2 separate regions of the Homo sapiens genome follow, and region 2 is linked to region 1. The links are contacts of gene promoters, found by promoter capture Hi-C in human tissues and cell types (Jung and others, 2019). All regions are on one chromosome and are shown on one strand. The core of a region is centred on a gene start or on the middle of the fragment in contact, and the rest is flanking DNA. Distances in the headings are between cores, read along the strand shown. Region 1 holds the start of TRAIP (TRAF interacting protein). Region 2 overlaps IP6K1 (inositol hexakisphosphate kinase 1).

Region 1 (3,280 bases), core at 503-3,002:
TTTGGGAGGCAGAGGTGGGTGGATTACTTGAGTCCAGGGGTTCAAGACCAGCCTGGGCAACATAGCAAGACCCCATCTCTACTAAAAATACAAAAAAAAAAAAATAGTCAAGCATGGTGGCAGGCGCCTGTAGTCCCAGCTACTTGGGAGGCTAAGATGGGAGAATCACCTTAGCCCAGGAGGTAGAGGCTGCAGTGAGCCGAGATGGCACCACTGCACTGCAGCCTGTGTAACAGAGTGAGACCCTGTCTCAAAATAAAATAAAATAAAGATCTTTGCAGTAAGCTAAAGTACTTTTTAATATACAAAAAAAGAAATAAATGCTGTTTCAAGGGATACATGTAAAACACAAGGACACAGAAAAGTTTAAAGTAAAAGGATAGGCCCTAGCACTTTGAGAGGCCAAGGTGGGTGGATCACCTGAAGTCAGGAGTTCGAGACCAGCCTGGCCAACATGGAGAAACCCTGTCTATGAAAAACACAAAAATTAGCTGGGCGTGGTGGCGCACGCCTGTAATGTCAGCTACTTGGGAGGCTGAGGAAGGAGAATCACTTGAACTCAGGAGGTGGAGGTTGCAGTGAGCCGAGATCACGCCACTGCACTCCAGCCTACACGACAGGAGCGAGACTCCATCTCAAAAATAAAATAAAATAAAAATAAATAAATAAAGTAAAAGGATAGAAGAAAATAGAGTAGGCAAACAGAAAATAGAGTACGCTTAGAGGCGAGCTTAATTTCTAGTCTAACCAAACAGCAGTGGCTCCCTCAGCATGGGGCTCAGGCTGTCAGCAACACAGGCCTAAACAAAGCTTTGCAAGTAAGCCAGCAGCCATCAGTGTCATGCCTGCCTTTCTGCTTCCTAGGGCCTTTAGCCCCACAAGACCCTGTGATTATTATCACCCACCATTCCCAGGGGTAACGCTGCCTTATCTCTTTTGCTAGGAGGTCCAAACCGGCCTGTCCACATCTGCTAGGGGAATCTTTCCCCACTAGCTGTACACTCAACAGAATGGCCCTACACGGTCAGCAGGACCCCTGGATAGGGGAGCATCTCCTTGCCTTCCCCATGTTAAACGGGTTTGCTGACATGGCGAATACATTGGGGTGTCTGGACAGTGAGATGACTCTGGGTAGAATAATTCCAAACCATCAAGTAAGGCACAGCAAACTCTCTTGGGTAGCCAGAAGCCTAGCAGGTTTCTATCTGGAAGAAATAAAAGGACTTGTTGATGTGGTGAAAGCTCACCCTTGCCCAGGCTAACGGTTTTGAAATCACATCTGTTTGTATAGGTGATCAAGGAAGCATCTATCTTCACTGAGCCATCTTAGTCCCCCTCAGGCTTAGCTCAGCTATCACCTCTACCAGAAAGCCTGTCCTGACCCACTTCTGCCCAGGTTGGGAAGCTCCCGTGGGGCCTCGTCTAGGAGGAAGGTTCTCATCACTTGTCTGGATTCCGGGGTTGGACCGCCTGGAGGCCCAACACCTCAAGGCCCTGAAGCGGTACCCGGGCAAACACCGGGCCCCAACACTGCAGTCACTCACCACTGCAAGTGGAAGGTGTGGCCGCAGTGGATGGCGGCCACGTCGCGGGAGTGATCGAAGAAGTCGGAGCAGATAGTGCACAGAGCACGGATAGGCATGATGGCTGGACTCAAGGGGCCCAGGCAGCCAAAGAAACTGCTACAGGTCCGGCTTCGTAGACGCGCCCCCGCGCCTCCGCTTGCTTCAAATTTGGCTCCGCAGCACGACTTCCTGGAGCGGGCCGGAAGTGACAACACAAAACTTTGGGCGGAGCGTGAATACTTCGCCTGGATTGGACAAATTCTCGGATGGGCGGAACTATGGGCGGGGCTTAGCGGCCCCGAGGCCGTAGAGAATCCTGGGCGGAGCGCGGTCGCTCTCAGGCGTCCTCTGGGGAGACTCGACCTGCCACTTGAGAGCGCAGCATTATATCAAGGCGGGGAGCAGCGAGGCTGCCAGCTGGACCCTTTTCCAGGGCAAGGCAGCGCATTGTGGTCCCATGCCAGAGCTGGCGCGAGGCAGGCTGGGCCAAGGCAGAGAAAACCGCAGCCGCAAGGGAATAGAACAATGGTCCCGATGGGTCCCTTGGGCTCTGGACAGTGATGGACCATGCGCTATGGTCTGTAGTTCCCATAGACCACAATACCCTACCCTCTCAGTCCTCAGTTCCGGGCGATTCTAGAAAGATGGACACATAGGCCCCAGTCCCTCAGGTCACCCCAGGCCAACCTTGGCTTCATCCAAGTAAGATATGACTATCCTTGAGTTTGGAGACACTAGGGCCAGTACCCTGACTTTAGCTCTTAGCTCTCAGGAGGATCAGTTATGCTTGAGACTGTAGTAGGGTTGGAATTTTGGAGGCCCAGATGCTTCAAAGACTAGAGACTAACAAATCCTTTTTATTATTCCCACATCAGAGAAGTTATCTTTGAGGAGGTTATCTTTGAGGTCCTCCCAGAGAGCAGCATCCCTGGTGAGTTCACCCAGGCCCACCTGGGCTGGAGTAAGTCAACTTTTGGGTTTTTAGGCTTAGTATCTGTGGCAGTGTTACTCCCTCTACCCAGAAGAAACCCTGTGCATAGTCCCATAATATAAAGCTGATCTGCTCCAGCTGAAATAGACCCAGAGTGAGATTTCATTTGGGGCATAGGTGGAAAGCACAGGTGTTCACAGAAAGAAGGAATCAACACAGAGCAGCATAGAATCTTTGTGCATTGCTCACCCTACACCCTCTCCCTAGCTCAGGGAAGCTATCTTTGGCTATGAGCAGGGTCTGTCCTTGCGGTGGCTGGCCCAGGTAGATTCCAGCTCTATGCCTAAATCAAGAGTAAGGCTCCTCGGTCAACAGGAGTCAAAAACAGCAGCCCTTACTTGAGCTCTCAGCCCAGGGAGTATTCCTTGGTCCAAATGCAGCCCAAGACCCACTACTCACATGGATTTCTAGAGTTCAGAGGACCCCCACCACCACCACCATTGAGGAATACACTGTGGTGAGGATGATCTTCACCCTCAGCCCAAGAAATCCACAGGGCACTGTTCACTACTACTCCCAGCCACTACTTGTGAACCTGCTCCCAGCCTCTCCCTTCCCCACTGCCTTCCAGGGGCTCCTCCCCAGTAGGACAGAGGAAGCAAAGGCGAGAGGGTGGCCAGAGGCTTTGCAGGGTGATGTTTATTTGCCAGGTTCAGTAGGCACACAGTTAACCCACCGACCTTCACACACCAGAGCAGACCCACAGGCATGCAGGGAGAAGGGC
Region 2 (3,280 bases), core at 298-2,797, 88 kb before region 1:
AGGATTGCTTAAGCTCAGTTTGAGACCAGCCTGGGCAACTTAACAAGATCCCATCTCCACAAAATTTTTTTTTTTATTTTTAAAAAATCAGCTGAGTTGCACTGGCTCATACCAGTAGTCTCGGCTACTTGGAAGGCTGAGGCAGGCAGGCAGTCACTCAAGCCCAGGAGTTTGAGGCTGCAGTGAGCTACATTCATATCACTCATTCCAGCCTGGGTGACAGGATGAGACCCTATCTCTTAAAAAATAATAATAATTGGCCAGGCGCGGTGGCTCACGCCTGTAATCCCAACACTTTGGGAGGCCGAGGTGGGCAGATCACCTGAGGTCAGGGGTTCAAGACAAGCCTGGCTAACATGGTGAAACCCCATCTCTACTAAAAATACAAAAAAGTAGCCAGTTGTGGTGGCACGTGCCTGTAATCCCAGGTACTCGGGGGGCTAAAACAGGAGAATCACTTGAACCGGGAGGCGGAAACTGTGGTGAGCAGAGATCACGCCACTGCACTCCAGGCTAGGTGACAGAGTGAGACTCCATCTCAAAAAATAATAATAATAATAACAACAACTTAAAAAAATAAAATTAGTCTGGGTACAGTGGCTCATACCTGTAATCTCAACACTTTGGGAGGCTGATGCAGGTGGATCACTTAAGCCCAAGAGTTTGAGACCACCCTGAGCAATATAGTGAGATCCCATCTCTATTCTAAAAAACCGATTAATTAATTTAAAAAGAGTGAAAACATCACCCACAGAATAGCAGAAAATATCTGCAGATCATACATCTGATAAAGGATTAATACATGGAACATATAAAGTACTTGTATAACTCGACAACAACAAAAATAACCCAATTCATAAATGGGCAAAGGCCTTAGACATTTCTCTGAAGATTTACAAATGGCCAAAAAATATGCAAAAAGATGCTCAACTTCATTAGTCATTAGGGAAATGCAAATCAAAGCCACAATGAGAAACTACTTCACATCCAAGTTATAAAAAAAAAAAAAAAATAGAAAATAAGTGTTGGCAAGGATATGAAGAAATTGTAACACTTGTGCACTGCTGGTGAGAATGTAAAGAAGACAGTATGGCAATTCCTCAAAAAGTTAAACATAGAATTACCATATGATTCAACAATTCCACTTTTAGGTCTATACCCAAAAGAACTGAAAGGAGGAATCCAAAACAGATATTTATACACCAATGTTCACAGCATTATTCACAATAACCAAATGGTGTCTACGACCCATGTCCATCAACAGATAAATGGATAAAGATATGCGGTATATACATACAGTGAAATATTATTCAGCCTTAAAAAGGAATGAAATTCTGATGCATGTCACAACATGGATGAATCTTGAAAACATTTTGCTAAGTGAAATAAGCCAGGCACAAAAGGGAAAAAATTATATAATTATAATTCCACTTACATAAAATAAAACAGGGCTGGGCACAGTTGCTTAAGCCTGTAATTCCAGCATTTTGGGAGGCTGAGGCAGGTGGATCACTTGAGGTCAGGAGTTCGAGATCAACCTGGCCAACATGGTGAAACCCCATCTTTACCAAAAATACAAAAATTAGCCGGCCGTGGTGGCGGGCACCTGTAATCCCAGCTACTTGAGAGGCTGAGGCAGGAGAATCACTTAAACCTGGGAGGCGGAGGCTGCAGTGAGCCAAGACTGGGCCACTGCACTCCAGCCTCGGTGACAGAGTGAGACTGAGTCTCAAAAATAAAATAAAATAAAATAGGCGAATTCATTGAGACAAAAAGATTATTAAGAACGTACAAGGGGCTGGGGGAGGTGAGAATGGGGTGTTACTATATAATGGGGAGAGTTCCTATTTGGGATGATGAAAGTAGTTCTCAAAACATCATTGTGAATGTATTTAATGCCACTGCATCATACCCTTCAAAATAGTTAAAATTCTACATTTTCTCATGTATATTTACTACAATTTAAAAATTTCATTTACAATAGCATCAAAAAAATCAAATGTCTTGGGTCAAATTTAACAAAACGTGAAAGAATTCTACATTAAAAACAATGAAATAATGTAGCAAGATAGTAAAGAAGGCATAAATCAAGAAATATGCCTCACACAGCACATGGATTAGAAGGCTCAATATAGTTAAGATGTCAATTCTCCCCAAATGAATCTATAAATTCAGTGGAATCTCAACCATAATGGCAGGAGACTTTTTTACAGAAATTGACAAGCTAATTCTAAAATTTATATGGTAATAAAAAGAAACTGTAATATTCAAATAAATCTTGATAAACAATAAAGTTGGGTTATTTACACTGCCTCATGTCAAGACTTCCTATAAAGCTACAGTAGTGGGGTACTGGCATATGGATAAACAAATAGATCAATGGAACAGAACACAGATTTCACAAACAGGCCCATATCTACAGAGTCAATTGTTTTTGGGATTTTTGCCAGCGACAAATCAGGATATAACAGTCAATTGTTTTTCGACAAAAGTACCAAAGCAAACCAATGGGGAGAGAAAATTTTGGTAGTTTTAAACTATGTCAAATTTTTTTACATTCTTCCCTCTAAAAAGTGAAATCCTCCTCTCTCCTTGAGTACAGGCTAGACTTAGGGACTCATTCTAATGAAAAGAATATGGCAGAAGTGACAGTGTATGACTAGGTCATAAGAGGCTTCATGGTTTCTTCCTTACTTTGTCTTAGATCATTTCTGTAGGAGATAACTGCACGCCATGAGGAAACTCAAAGAGCCCTGTGTATAACTTGTTAGCTTTAAAGTAGGGAAAATTTAAAAACAAACAAACAAAAGCCCTGGGTAGAGATAAACAATATGGAACTGAGGCTTCCTGCAAAGAGCTTTATGAATAAGTCATCTTGAAAACAGATCCTCTAAGCCAAGCATGGTGGCTCAGGCCTATAATCCCAACACTTTGGGAGGCCAACAGGGAAAGATCACTTGAGCCCAGGAGTTCAAAACCAGCCTGGGCAACATCTCTACAAAACATAGAAAAAACTAGCCCTGCATGGTGGTGCATGCCTGTAGTTCCAGCTTGAGAGGCTGAGTTGGGAGGATCACTCAAGCCCAGGAGGCCAGGGCTGCAGTAAGCTGTGATCACCACTTCACTCTAGCCTGGGCCACTTCTGAATTCCTAGCCCTCAGAAACTGAGGTAATAACTGTTTGCTGTTTTAAACTGCTAAGTTTTGGAATAATTTGTTACAGAGCAATAGATAATACACAAGTCTTTTCAACAAATGTTGCTAGTAATGGAACAATCAGT

What was found. The method cuts DNA at HindIII sites, captures the fragments that hold promoters and counts their contacts. A contact is called where the count stands out against the background at its distance.
Region 2: a fragment that was not itself captured here is called in contact with the fragment with the promoter of TRAIP in region 1 in 14 of the 25 tissues and cell types used here (H1 embryonic stem cells, IMR-90 fibroblasts, adrenal gland and 11 more).

The regions. Positions count from the first base shown.
Region 1 is chr3:49,854,812-49,858,091 of GRCh38, forward strand. It overlaps TRAIP (TRAF interacting protein), which reads right to left and starts at 1,753. Exons shown (of 15, transcript NM_005879.3): 1 at 1,545-1,753. The coding sequence starts at 1,642. CAMKV (CaM kinase like vesicle associated) reads right to left here. Exons shown (of 11, transcript NM_024046.5): 11 at 3,178-3,280. The HindIII fragment of the contact is 12,385 bases long and covers 1-3,280 here.
Region 2 is chr3:49,767,039-49,770,318 of GRCh38, forward strand. The region is part of intron 1 of IP6K1 (inositol hexakisphosphate kinase 1); the gene reads right to left. Among named protein-coding and RNA genes, the nearest start is that of IP6K1, 18 kb to the right of the region's middle. The HindIII fragment of the contact is 9,567 bases long and covers 1-3,280 here.